5 separate regions of the Homo sapiens genome follow, and all the other regions are linked to region 2. Evidence: promoter capture Hi-C in human tissues and cell types (Jung and others, 2019). All regions are on one chromosome and are shown on one strand. The core of a region is centred on a gene start or on the middle of the fragment in contact, and the rest is flanking DNA. Distances in the headings are between cores, read along the strand shown.

The links. Contacts are between HindIII fragments. The study calls those that stand out against the background at their distance.
Region 1: a contact is called between the fragment with the promoter of CST6 here and the fragment with the promoter of SNX32 in region 2, in 1 of the 25 tissues and cell types used here (mesenchymal stem cells).
Region 3: a contact is called between the fragment with the promoter of KCNK7 here and the fragment with the promoter of SNX32 in region 2, in 11 of the 25 tissues and cell types used here (H1 embryonic stem cells, IMR-90 fibroblasts, bladder and 8 more).
Region 4: a fragment that was not itself captured here is called in contact with the fragment with the promoter of SNX32 in region 2 in 1 of the 25 tissues and cell types used here (spleen).
Region 5: a fragment that was not itself captured here is called in contact with the fragment with the promoter of SNX32 in region 2 in 1 of the 25 tissues and cell types used here (spleen).

The regions. Positions count from the first base shown.
Region 1 is chr11:66,010,580-66,013,279 of GRCh38, forward strand. It overlaps CST6 (cystatin E/M), which reads left to right and starts at 1,429. Exons shown (of 3, transcript NM_001323.4): 1 at 1,429-1,705; 2 at 2,247-2,372. The coding sequence starts at 1,466. The HindIII fragment of the contact is 16,997 bases long and covers 1-2,700 here.
Region 2 is chr11:65,832,565-65,835,264 of GRCh38, forward strand. SNX32 (sorting nexin 32) reads left to right here and starts at 1,399. Exons shown (of 13, transcript NM_152760.3): 1 at 1,399-1,537. The coding sequence starts at 1,502. It overlaps LOC124902693, which reads right to left and starts at 1,235. Exons shown (of 7, transcript XM_047427980.1): 1 at 1-1,235. The coding sequence starts at 947. RefSeq lists silencers at 951-1,080, 1,254-1,466 and an enhancer at 1,391-1,480. The HindIII fragment of the contact is 13,089 bases long and covers 1-2,700 here.
Region 3 is chr11:65,594,470-65,597,169 of GRCh38, forward strand. KCNK7 (potassium two pore domain channel subfamily K member 7) reads right to left here and starts at 1,331. Exons shown (of 3, transcript NM_033347.2): 1 at 985-1,331. The coding sequence starts at 1,303. The HindIII fragment of the contact is 18,543 bases long and covers 1-2,700 here.
Region 4 is chr11:66,035,641-66,038,340 of GRCh38, forward strand. No RefSeq gene overlaps it. Among named protein-coding and RNA genes, the nearest start is that of CATSPER1, 11 kb to the left of the region's middle. The HindIII fragment of the contact is 7,933 bases long and covers 1-2,700 here.
Region 5 is chr11:66,054,649-66,057,348 of GRCh38, forward strand. SF3B2 (splicing factor 3b subunit 2) reads left to right here. Exons shown (of 22, transcript NM_006842.3): 4 at 428-667; 5 at 887-937; 6 at 2,190-2,307; 7 at 2,618-2,700. Among named protein-coding and RNA genes, the nearest start is that of SNORD13F, 2.9 kb to the left of the region's middle. The HindIII fragment of the contact is 4,123 bases long and covers 1-2,700 here.

The DNA.
Region 1 (2,700 bases), core at 179-2,678, 180 kb after region 2:
GGCGTGAGCCACCACACCTGGCAATTATTGGAGTCTTTAAAAACACAGTCATGGGCCTTGTTTGCTGGTACCTCCAGCACATGCTCACTGTATCCACGGGACAGCCAGATTCGAAACATCAATATCAGAACAAACTTAGGAGATAAGGTGTCTTTCAGACGAGGGCACGGAGGCTCTGTGTGGGAGGTTGAGGGACTTGCCCAAAGCCATGCCGTCAGTAAGATGGCAGAGCTGACATGACTGACACCCCCTCCTTCTGGGCAGTTTGTGTCCTGTGGGCTCAGTCTGGTTTAAGACCACAGATTTGACTTAGACTGTCAGCACACACAAGCCAGTGTCACCATTTATTTCCTGCCGGTGTCTTTGGGCAAATCCATTTTCCCTTCTCTGTAAAGTGGAAACTATTTTTTTTCTTTTTTCTTTTTTTTTTTTGTGAGACAGAGTCTCTCTCTGTCACCCAGGCTAGAGCGCAGTGGTGCCATTTTGGCTCACTGCAACCTCTGCCTCCCAGGTTCAAGCAATTCCCCTGCCTCAGCCTTCTGAGTAGCTGGGAATTCAGGTGTGTGCCACCACGCCTGGCTAATTTTTGTATTTTTGGTAGAGACGGGGTTTCACCATGTTGGCCAGGCTGGTCTTGAACTCCTGACCTCAAGTGATCTGCCTGCCTCGGCCTCCCAAAGTGCTGGGATTACAAGTGTGAGCCCTCATGCCCGGCCTTCTTTTTTTTTTTTTTTTTTTTTTTTTTTTTTGAGTCAGCGTCTAGCTCTGTCGCCCAGGCTGGAATGCTGCAGTGGTGAGATCACGATTCACTGACTTGAACTCCTTGGCTCAAGTGGTCCTCCCACCTTGGCCTCTCAAAGTGCTGGAATTACAAGCATGCCTAGGTGCCTGGCCAGGTAGAAACATTAGTCACTCGCGCTCCAGGAAGGTTGTCAGGCAGCGCTGAGCAGTAATGTGTCCTACTCACCTGCTGTTTATCCAGCACCAGACCTCTTCTAAGAACTTTACCTGTTTCAGCTCACTGAATCCTCACAACACCCATTGTACAGAAGAGGAAACTGAGGCAGCGAGTGGTTAAGTGACTTCTCCGAGGTTACACAGCTAGGAAATGGTGGCAACAGTAAGAGCCCACGAAGAGCTGCGGTTGGTAGTTCATTCTGGACAGCCCTCCCGTGAACCGTCCCTGTACTGGCACTTGTTGCTGGGGACTGTCGCTGTCCTCTCCCTCCCCGGGCCAGGTGTGTCCTGGAGGGCAGGGAAGCGTCTTGGCACGCGGGTGCGCGCCGCCCCCTCGGCCTCCTGGGCTCCCTGAACCTCGCAGGACCCCGGCAACTTCGAGCCCCGCCCCAGCTCCAGGCCGCGGGGGCGCATCGCGGGCGTCGGGCGGGGCGGCCCAGCGGGTAAAAGCTGCGCGGCCGCAAGCTCGGCACTCACGGCTCTGAGGGCTCCGACGGCACTGACGGCCATGGCGCGTTCGAACCTCCCGCTGGCGCTGGGCCTGGCCCTGGTCGCATTCTGCCTCCTGGCGCTGCCACGCGACGCCCGGGCCCGGCCGCAGGAGCGCATGGTCGGAGAACTCCGGGACCTGTCGCCCGACGACCCGCAGGTGCAGAAGGCGGCGCAGGCGGCCGTGGCCAGCTACAACATGGGCAGCAACAGCATCTACTACTTCCGAGACACGCACATCATCAAGGCGCAGAGCCAGGTGCGGCGGGCGGGGTGCTGGGAGGGGACACCCGGCCCAGATGGGGGAGGCCACAGGCGCTGCCCCAGCGTGCATGAAGGGGGCCTAAAAGCGCAATCGGGATATTTTCATGCAATATTTTAAAAATCGAATTAATGCTAAAACTCCACGATGGACAACCATCTAAATTTCAAGGAAAGACATAATTAAACCCTGTATTGCACTACCTGCCTTCCTGGCTTGCCTGGTCCTAGTCTCTGCCCTGATGGGGTGGATCGGGGAGGAGGGAAGGCAGGTGGGGACAGTGGGCAGCTCCCTAGATGGGGCATGTCTGATGTCTGCCAAGGCTGCTGGTGGGGCTCAGCCTCCAGGCCTCTCCACCCTCCATCCCCACCAGAACTCCCCCCCCCACCCCCCCCCACCCCCCCCCACCCCGTCTGAATCATCCCCTCTCCCTCTCTCCCCACCTGAGTGCCTGGGGGCAACAGGAGAATATATCAAGAGGTGAGAAGTGAGGATCAAGGGTCAAGACCCCTGACCTGCCCCTACCCTATGCCCCCAGCTGGTGGCCGGCATCAAGTACTTCCTGACGATGGAGATGGGGAGCACAGACTGCCGCAAGACCAGGGTCACTGGAGACCACGTCGACCTCACCACTTGCCCCCTGGCAGCAGGGGCGCAGCAGGAGGTAACAGCTGGGCTCCTCCAGCCCCAGCCCTCCCCAGAGCCTCAGGCACTCAGGTTGTCCATCCTGAACTGGTTTGGCTGGACACGTAGATGTCTAGATGTCTGGCTGAACCTGTCGTCCTTCTGGATGAGTCAGCCTCTGGGCCAAGATGGGGTGCAGAAAGGAAGCTGGGGCTTCCCTCGGGAATGGGGAAGTTGGCTACCAAGATCTGGAGTCTAGCCCCAGACATGCGGCTTGACATCCGTTGGGTCAGTGATTGTCCCTCTCTTGGCCTGGAGCAGCCTGGCAGGCAGAGGGCTGGCTGTTGGGAGGAGACAGGTCGAGGCTG
Region 2 (2,700 bases), core at 149-2,648:
CTGGTTCCCAGCTTCTCTCCACTCAACCTCAGCTTCTCTCTGATTGATCTCAGCATCTCTCCACTCAACCTCAGCTTCTCATCACTGGTTCCCAGCTTCTCTCCACTAGTTCCCAGCTTCTCTCCACTCCATCTCAGCTTCTCTCTACTTGATCTCAAATTCTCTCCACTTGATCTCAGCTTTCTGCCACTGGACCTCAGCTTCACTCCACTGGACCCCTGCTTCTCTCCCCTGCACACCAGCTTCTCACTAGTAGACCTCAGCTTCTCTACACTTGATCTCATCTTGTCTACACTAGACCTCAACCCCTTCTCATCCTGTCCCAGTTTATATCCATTGGATCTCAAGTCCTCTCCACTGGTCCCTACCTTCTCCCCAGCAGACCTCAACCTCTCTTCAAACCCAGACCCCTTCATAGGCCCTGCTGTCATCCCTGCACTCTTAGATTTAGCCTTTATTTCGTGTTTGACCTCTTGCTTTCCCCAAATACCCCTTGGGCTGTCTTTCCCCAAATCTGCTGAAGCTTGTGATGCACTTGCTCCACGGTATAGCAGCTTCACATCCATCCTTTCCTGACTCGGGCCTGACTTCCCTTTCAAGACCGTCTTTTCCACATCTTCCAGTCTCCAGTACTCAGACTCCAGCTTCGGCTTTCGAGTGTTTCTAGTCAGGAGCTCCACTCTCTTCCCAATTACCATGAGCCCGTTCCAAGGTCCCCAGGTTTTCTCTCGCAGCATCGGCACCCCCTTGCAGCCCCGCTCCAGTGGCGACCGTTCGCGGACCCCGGCCTCGCTTGGGGCGCCCTGGCCGCGGGACTTGTGGAGCTCCCTAGTCCTCCTAGGCTGCTTACCCCGCCGCTCCCTCCCGTCCAAGAGCGGAAACCTAAACAGACCCCCCTTCTCCACAGACATTGTCCCCTGCCCTCGCCCCTGGTCCACCACCCACATCCCCACCACTGCTTCCCATTCCCTGTCCCCACCCTGCCACCCTCACCCTCTTCCCCTTCCCCTTCCCCTTCCCCACTGCCTGGTGGGCGCCAAACTGGGCGAGTGCGCACGCGCAGGCCGCACGTGGCCGTTGGAAGGAGGGGCCCGGAACGGCGGCACGGGGTTGTTGTGGGGGTCAGTCCCCCGGGGACTGGAGGGAGACGCGGCACGCGGCCTCTGCGACCCTATGAACTCTGACCCCAGCTCCCACACTGTCGCCTATCACCGGCCCACTCTCCGTGCCGCGTGTCCCTTAAAAGCTGGGGCCTGGGACAGGAACGACAGACAATGCAGCCAATGGCGTCACGCGCGGTGCCCCGCTACCCAATCGAAAGGCGTGGCTGAGGGAAACGCGGTGGGAACCGCCCCCGACTCCAGGCGACTCCTTGGCCGGGCGGGGGAGAGCGTCCCCGTCAGCTGAGAGCATCCTCACTCGGTCAGTTCCTCGGGCGAGTTACGGGGACGACCTGCGGGAGCACGCGGGCAGTGGCCGGACGCTGAAGCCCAGGAGAGCGATGGAGACGTATGCGGAGGTTGGGAAGGAGGGCAAGGTAGAGAAAGGATGAAGACCCCCACCCCAGCCTCCCCTCACTCCATGAAAGCCCGTGATGCCCAATCATGCGGTGGTGTGTGTGTGTCTGTGTGTGTGTGGTCTGCCTCTGTGTGTTTCTGTGTGTGTCTGTGTGTGTATAGTCTGCATGTGTCTGTTTCTCTGTGTGTCTGTGTGTATGTCGATGTGCCTGCATATGTCTGTGTGTGTGTGTATCTGTGTATGTCTGTATTTGTGTCTCTGTGTGTCTGTGTGTCTGTGTGTGTCTCAGTGTGTGTCTGTGTCTTTGTGTGTCTCTGTGTATCTGTGTGTGTGTCTGTGTGTCTCCGTGTCTCTGTGTGTGTGTGTATGGCCTGTGTGTGTCTGTGTGTGTGCACGTATGCGTCCATGTGGGTGTTTGTGCGTGCATGTCTGTGTCTGTCTCTGTGTGTGTCTGTGCATGTCTGTGTGTGTGTGTCTGTGTGTCTGTGTCTGTGTATGGTCTGCGTGTGTCTTTGTGTCTGTGTCTGTCTGTGTGTATGGTCTGCATGTGTGCATGTATGCATCTGTGTGTGTCTCTGTGTGTATCTGTGTGTGCACGCATGTGCCTGTGTGTGTCTGCGCAGGTCTGTGTCTCTTTGTGTCTGAGTGTGTGTCTGTCTCTGTGTCTATGTATGGTCTGCGTGCATCTTTATGTCTGTGTGTGTGTGTCTCTGTGTGTGTGTATGGTCTGCGTGTGTCTGTGTGTGTGTGTCTGTGTATTTCTGGGTCTGTGTGTGTGTTTGCATGTGTCTGTGTGTGTCTGTATCCGTGTGTCTTTGTATATCTGTGTGTGTCTATGTCAGTGTGTCTGTGTGTGCATCTGTGTGTGTCTGTGTGCCTGTGTATGATCTGTGTATGTCGTTGTGTGTGTCTGTGTGTGTGTTTCTCTGTGCCTGTGTGTTTGTGTGTGTCTGTGTATCTGTGTGTGTTTCTATGTGTGTCTGTGTGTGCGTGTGTCTGTGTTTGTCTCGTGTGTCTGTGTGTGTGTATGTGCCCATGTGTCTCTGTGTGTATGTGTGTGTCTGCGCAAGTGAGAGAAAGGAGACTTGAGCAAGGGAGTGGGGAGCCTCTGTGGCACCTGTGTGCGGACTGATGAGGATGCCAAGGGAGGCAGGGTTTTGCCTTTGTCCTTACAGATGGAAA
Region 3 (2,700 bases), core at 81-2,580, 240 kb before region 2:
AGTGTGAGCTGTATCCAAAGGGCAGGCCCCATTCTGCTCCAGTCAGGATGTTGCCTTGCAGGGATTCTGGCTCAGTGTGAGTGGGTTTCCTGATTTTCCAAAAGAAGTTGGAAATATGAGCTGGGCACAGTGGCTCACACCTGTAATCCCAACACTTTGGGAGGCTGAGGCAGGTGGATCACTTGAGGTCAGGAGTTTGAGAACAGCCTGGCCAACATGGCAAAACCCCGTCTCTACTAAAAACACAAAAATTAGCCGGGCATGGTGGTGCATGCCTGTAGTCCCAGCTACTCAGGAGGCTGAGGCAGGAGAATTGCTAGAACCCGGGAGGTGGAGGTTGCAGTGAGCCAAGATCGCACCACCGCACCCCAGCCTGGGTGACAGGGTCAGACACCGTTTCAAAAAAAAAAAAAGTTGGAAATACAAATTCCAATTCAAAAAATACTGAGACACTTTGTGGGGCAAAAAATACGAAAACCCAGGGCTGTGGGTCTCATTGCTGCTTTTCCCTGGGCCTGTGCCCACGCGATTTCTCTGCAGGACTCCCTCATCCCTGTCTGTGCCCTCCTGATCCACAAGCATCTCATGCCGACTTCCTCCCCTATCTTCCCTCACTCCCCCACCCGAGGCCATGGTCCTGATCTGTCCTTCCCAGGTTCATTCTATTTGCTTCCATCCAAGAATCCATCCCACTGTATTGTATCCCCTATCTGGCCACAGGCTGTGGCATCTGGGCAGCTCTCCTGGGTCTCAAAGGGTGCCTGGGGTGGGACTGGGGAGGCCACACCCTTCCTGGCAGTTGAAGTGGAGGCACCAGTTGGGGTGTGTTGGTGGGGAGCCCCAGCTGTGATGTCAGGCCTCACAGGGCCTGGGCTCCATCTGGCTCTTTGGGGCTGAAGGAAGGGCTGCATGAACCCCAAAGCCCCCAGGGAGCCATGGCCTCTTGGAGCCGCACCCCCCGACTTGGCTGCCTGGCTCTCTTACCTGTGGTGGTGAGGATGCTGGCAGCGAAGAGCAGGGCTGAGGGAAGGTCCCAGGTCCTGCCCTCTGAGCTGTTGCCCAGGGTGGAGACCCCATGGGCCTGGGTGGCCAGGGCAGTGCCCAGCAGCTCTTCCAGAGCTCCGGGTGGCAGGCAGGCCCTATGCTCTGCCTGGAAGGCTGCCAGCTCTGCCCTGAGCTCAGCCTGAAGCCTGCATGCAGGAGGCCCCTCCAGGGCCTGGAACACCACAGCCCCAAGCCCCAGGGCCAGCAAGTGGGCCACAACCAGGAGCCCGTATCGGGACCAGGGCCTTAGACCCCCCATGGCAGGCCGCTGGGGTGCTGTGGGAACTGGCGGCTCCACCTCAGGCACCTGGGAGGGGCTGGGCAGGGCGGGGCCAGGAGGAGGTGCTGTGTGGGTGGCTGGGACCCGGCTGGGATGGCTGGGGTGGCTGGGGTGTGAACAGGAGGGAGGTGAGCTGCATCACCCTTCCCAGGTCCTGGAGGCAAGACATTTGCCCATTTCACAGCAGCTGGGATGGTGGGGATGGGTGGAGGAAGGCGGCTGCGGTGAGGGGAGGAGGCGGAGGAAGCTGAAGCCTAGAGAGGACCTCACACTTATTCAAGGTCCTGCTCACTCAGGCACCCATACCACATTCATTCATTCATTCATTCATTCAAGTGCTTAGGGAAGAGGACAGGCACAGGTCCTTTCCTTCCTGGTGTTTACACAAGAAACCTCTTAGCAAAGAAACATGGCAACCTCACATTGTCATGAGTTCCATGAAGGAAACACCCTGGGTGATGGGAGAGCTCTGCGGGGAGCGGGGGGGTTATCTCACTGGGAAAGCTCTGCTAAGGAGGTGATATTTCAGCTGGGGAGTAAGAGGCCAGTGAAGGTAGGAATGAGCTTGGGGTGTGAGAGGAACAGAGGGCTGGCTGTGGCAGGGGAGAGTTGGGGGTGAAGGGGGGATAAGGACACAGGCCCTTGAGGATAAATGTGGTCCAGGGAGACCTACGCTGGGCTACTGTAGGCGTCATGGATGGAGTGATTTTGGCCTGGGTGGTGTGGTGGGAGAGGAATGGTGGCAGCTGGGAAGGATCAGGTGGGGGTGGGAGGTGGGGAGAGGACTCCAGGGTGCCCAGAGCACCCGGGCAGATGATACCCTTGCGCCCGATTGCCAGTTCTTCCTGAGAACGCTTTGTGCCTGCCCTCCTGACTCCCTGCCCCTGAACTGCAGACACAGAGTCTGGGCTGCCATGGGGCACCTGGGAGAGGGGAAGGGGGAGCCTGGGTTCCAACTCCTCTAACGTCAGAGGGGCTGAGGACAGAGGCCAAGGAAGGGACCCAGCCCTAGGGTATGGTGTGGGAGTGCCAGAGCCCCCATGGCAGTGTGAAGAGAATGGACAGAGGCCGAGGGAGGGACCCTGCCCTAGGGTATGGTGTGGGAGTGCCAGAGCCCCCATGGCAGTGTGAAGAGAACTGTCAGGGGTGCCAGATGCCATGGCAAGTCACCATACTGGGAGGTGGGTGGAACTTACTACTCTTTTTTTTGAGATGGAGTCTCGCTCTGTCGCCCAGGCTGGAGTGCAGTGGTGCAATCTCGGCTCACTCAACCTTCGCCGCCCGGGTTCAAGCTATTCTCCTGCCTCAGCCTCCCAAGTAGCTGGGGCTACAGGCACCTGCCACCACGCCTGGTTAATTTTTGTATATATATATAT
Region 4 (2,700 bases), core at 84-2,583, 200 kb after region 2:
CTGACTTGAAGTGATCCACCTGCCTCGGCCTCCCAAAGTTCTGGGATTACAGGCGTGAGCCACCATGCCCGGGCTGAGTCTTCCCATTTGTAATGGAGTATGAGAGCCTGACTCCTTCGCCCTCTGTTGCGTTGTAGCAATCCCATGAGATTGGGATGAAGGTGGAGGATGGGGGTGGCAGAGGGTGATCCTGTCCTGTCCTTTGCCCACTGGAGGGCACCAGGGAAACTCTTGCTGGGGAGAAGAGGATTGGCTGGCAGGGATCCTCAGATTTCTGTAGCCCTGCTGGGCCAGAGGAGCTAATCTAGAATCTATGAGGTTGAGAGAGGGGCTCCCCTTCCTCTTCTCCATGCCCTTCTCTGGCTGGGACTGACTGTCTAGCCCCTTTCTTCAGGCACCTCTGCCCCACAGCCCCTCTGCACGCCTCTGGCCCATTCTGGGAAGCTGCCCGGTTGTGTTGGCAGAGCACCAGCTTCTCTCTCTTTGCCTCACCTCACCTTGGGCTCCCAAAGAACTTGGGCTCTCTGCCTCTCCCTCCCACTCAAACCTGCTCCCAGGAGGCTTTTATAATGAGGCTGTTTAATAAGGAGCCTGCAGGGATGGCTGGGAGGGTGTTTCACGGGGTCGGGTAATGTATTATGGTGGGAGGACCTGGGCTTTGGAGCCTGAGCAGTCTGGTTTCTGTCCTAGCTCAGCTTCTCCCGGCTGTATGAGCCTGGGCACTTCAACTTTTTGTATCTCAGTTTCCTCTTCTACAAGAGGGGATATAGCTGGGTGTTTAGTGGTACCTGCCTATAATCCCAGCTACTCAGGAGTCTGAGGGAGGATTGCTTGAGCCTGGGAGTTTACGGCTGCAGTGAGTCACGATTGCACCACTGCCCCCTCCGAGTAGCTGAGACTTGTGTGACAAGTGAGACCCTGTCTCTAAAATAAATAAAAGAGGGAGAGAAGAGTAACAGCTACCTCTTAGGGTGTTGTAAAAATCAAGTAAGTTGGCTGGGCCTGGTGGCTCATGCCTGTAATCCCAGCACTTTGAGGGTCCAAGGCAGGTGGATCGCTTGAGGCCAGGAGTTTGAGACCAGCCTGGCCAATATGGTGAAACCCTGTGTCCATTAAAAATGCAAAAATTAGCCAGGTGTGGTGGTGGGTGCCTGTAATCCCAGCTATTCGGGAGGCTCAGGCAGGAGAATCACTTGAACCTGAGCGGCAGAAGTTGCAGTGAGCCGAGATCATGCCACTGTACTCCAACCTGGGCGATAGAGCGCAACTCCATCTCAAAAAAAAAAAAAAAATCGAGTAAGTTAAAATACATAAAGTGTAGAGAAGAGCACCTAGCACAGGGGTCCCCAACCCCCAGGCCATGGACGTTACCACCTGAGCTCTGCCTCCTGTCAGATCACCATTAGATTCTCTTAGGAGTGTGAACCCCCTATTGTGAACTGCATGTGCGGGGGATTTAGGTTGTGCACTCCTTATGAAAATCTAATGCCTGATGATCTGAGGTGGAACAGTTTCATCCCAAAACCATCCCCCTTAACCCCTCACACCACGGACAAATTCTCTTCCACAAAGCCAGTCCCTGGTGCCAAAAACATTGGGGACCACTGACCTAGCATATAGTAAGTGATATGGTTTGGCTGTGTGTCCCCCCCACCCGCCCAGATCTCATGTTGAAATGTGATCTCCAGTGCTGGAGGTGGGGCCTGGTGGGAGATGTTTGGATCATGGGGTAGATCCCTCATTAATGGCTTGGTGCCATCCCCTTGGTGATCGGCGAGTTCTTGCTCTGAGTTCACAGTGATCTGGTTGTTTGAAAGTGTGTGGCACCTCCCCTCAGAGGGCATTGACCTTGTTCCTGCTTCTGGCATGTGATATGCTTGCTTCCACTTCACCTTTCACACAATTGTAAGCTTACTGAGGCCTCCTCAGAAGCCGAGCAGATGTCAGCACCATGCCTGTACAGCCTGCAGAACTGGGAGCCAATCAAAACTATTTTCTTTTCTTTTCTTTTTCTTTTCCACTTTGTAGCCCAGGCTGGAGTGCAGTGGCTGATCTCAGCTCACTGCAAGCTCCACCTCCTGGGTTCACGGCATTCTCCTGCCTCAGCCTCCCGAGTAGCTGGGACTACAGGTGCCTGCCACCATGCCTGGCTAATTTTTTTGTATTTTTAATAGAGACGGGGTTTCACTGTGTTAGCCAGGATGGTCTTGATCTCCTGACCTCGTGATCCACCCGCCTCAGCCTCCCAAAGTGCTGGGATTACAGGCATGAGCCACTGTGCCCAGCCCCAATCAAACCTGTTTTCTTTAATTACCCAGACTCACGTATTTCTTCATAGCAATGCAAAAACAGCCTAATAGAGTAAGTGCTCAGTAAAAGTTAGTAGCATTGTTCTTATTAACGTGCCTTCTCTCAGTGGCATTTGCAGCTTTTATTTTTGGATGGAGTCTCTCTCTGTCACCCAGGCTGGAGTGCAGTGGCACAATCTCGGCTGTCTGCAACCTCTGCTTCCTGGGTTCAAGGCATTCTCCTGCCTTAGCCTCCTGAGTAGCTGGGATTACAGGCATGCACAACCACACCCAGCTAATTTTGTATTTTAGTAGAGATGGGGTTTCACCATGTTGGCCAGGCTGGTCTCAAATTCCTGATTTCAAGTGATCCACCCCCACTTGGCCTCCCAAAGTGCTGGGATTACAGGCA
Region 5 (2,700 bases), core at 29-2,528, 220 kb after region 2:
GGGTTTGCATTGCCCAGATACAGTGGTTCCTGTTTATGTAAGTCCTCTCAATTTCCATGTTCCTTCTGATCCAGGATTTGCCTCATTTTCTCTAAAGCAGTGGCTCTGACCTGGCATCTACTGATCTCTGTGTGTAGGATGAGGAGTCCCTAGATGGCCTCAGAGGCGTCTTTGAGTCTCCTAGAATTGTATGCAGAATCTATATTCAGGATATCTTTTTGGAGAGAGTGGATAGCTTCCTTTGGTTGGTGCCAGAAGTTAACATTCTCATATCTTTATAGAGCTGTGGAGCATTCTCTCTTATGGAGTGGTAACTATGTATCATTTGACTTAGAATTCCAGCTCCTGACTCAAAGTAGATCCCCCAGATATTTGCAGAATGAGTAGATAAATGCTTCCTAGTTTTATGATCATATTTTCTCCACAGCTCCCTGGAATTCCCATGCCACCACCACCTTTGGGACTCCCCCCTCTGCAGCCTCCTCCGCCACCCCCACCACCTCCACCAGGCCTTGGCCTTGGCTTTCCTATGGCCCACCCACCAAATTTGGGGCCCCCGCCTCCTCTCCGTGTGGGTGAGCCAGTGGCACTGTCAGAGGAGGAGCGGCTGAAGTTGGCTCAGCAGCAGGCGGCATTGCTGATGCAGCAGGAGGAGCGTGCCAAGCAGGTAGGGCAGGTGGCAGCCCTGGCCTTGGACTCATTAGGTCCCTGAAGGGGCAGTGGAGCCTTAGAGAAAGCTGGGTCCTAGAACTAAGGCTTCTGGGAAGGTCGGGACTAAAGATTGGAACATGGGCCCTTGACTGGAAGAGGATCTCAAGAAGCAAGAGTTGTGGCAGATTGGCGTGTTGGGTATTGGTGCTGGTATGAACTTGTTTTCTTTTTTAAGCAGGGAGATCATTCGCTGAAGGAACATGAGCTCTTGGAGCAGCAGAAGCGGGTAATACCCCTCCCCCTAACCTTTGACCTCGTGGTCCAGTCAGTTGGCTGTCATTTATAGTGCTTAGAGTGCACCATTCAAGTTTTCCCTGGAGGCTACTTTGTTCTCAACTAAGTTCTAGTATCTTCCAAAGCTTTCAATTTTTCTTGAAGTTCAGGAATTGACAAACTATGACCTGTGGCCTGCATGTGTATGGCCTATGAGCTAAAAATAACTTTAAAATTTTTTAAGGGTTATAAGAAAACCCAAACCAAAAATATGTACCAGAGTCTGTACAGCAACCCATAAAGCCTAAAATATTTACCTTCTGACCTATTATAAAAAGAGCCTGCTGACCTCTGCTCGCCTTACATGACATCATTCTAGATAGGACTCTGGGTAATTGAGTTATTTGTATTGGATTTAGACAGAATAGGACTGTAAGTCTGGGAATGTTATATAAGATGTTTGGCCCCAGAGGTGCATTGCATCAGTCATTACCCAGTGGGTTACTCAGGAGTATTAAAAAGTAAGTGTTAAAAAGCAACAAGTATGAGCTGGGTGCCGTGGCTCACACCTGTAATCCTAGCACTTTGGGAGGCTGAGGTGGGTGGATCGCTTGAGCTCAGGAGTTCGAGACCAGCCTGGCCAACATAATGAAACCCTGTCTCTCAGAAATACAAAAATTAGCCAGGTGTGGCGGCGCATGCCTGTAGTCCCAGCTACTTGGGAGGCTGAGGTGGGAGGATGGCTTGAGCTGGGGAGGCCGAGGTTGCAGTGAGCTGAGATCATGCCACTGTACTCCAGCCTAGGCAACAGAGCCAGACTCTGTCTCAAAAAAAAAAAAAAAAAAAAAAGCCACAAGTCTGGACCTGTGGGTAAAGTACTGTCTTTGCCCAGATTGTGCTGGATCTTGAGGGGTGGATATAAGAAAAGAGCTCAAAAGTTTCTTCTGTATAATTTAATCTTTTGGGGAAGAAAACTCTCTGAAAAGTAGAAGGCACTGTTTGGCTCAATATGAAATTCTCTGCTAGGAACCAGAAGTTTCCTGGGGTTTTCCTTGGTGTTATTTCTAGGGATTTTCCGTTGTGATGAGAGGGCTCCTCCGTTTGGATTAGTAGCCTGGAAGTGTGGGGGTGGAGGGGATGTCAGCACCCAAGTGGTTCGTGATTGTTCTCCTTGGGCCCATTACCCGGCTGAAAGAATGCATTTGCCAGGGGCTGCCTGCCAAATGCGTTTTCAGGCAGTATCTACTCCCACTTCCCTCCCGTAGGCAGCTGTGTTACTGGAGCAGGAACGACAGCAGGAGATTGCCAAGATGGGCACCCCAGTCCCTCGGCCCCCACAAGACATGGGCCAGATTGGTGTGCGCACTCCTCTGGGTCCTCGAGGTGAGACCCTGGAACCGAGGGGAAGGGCAAGGAAGGTGATTTAGACATTTTTAAAAAGACTTTTAAGGTATCTATCACATTTAAAAAGGGCATATATAGTAAATATATAGTTTAATGGTTTTTTACACACTGAACACACCTGTACAACCAGCACCTGGACCATGATCCAAAACATTACCAGCATTCCAAAAGCCACGCCACGTGCCCTCCTCCCCTGCAGGTTTACCATCACCCTTTCAGCAAGAGAGGTAATTTTTTACGTGAGTGTTTTGCCTCTTCTGACATTGGATTTCTTTTTCCCGTCTCTTAGTAGCTGCTCCAGTGGGCCCAGTGGGCCCCACTCCTACAGTTTTGCCCATGGGAGCCCCTGTTCCCCGGCCTCGTGGTCCCCCA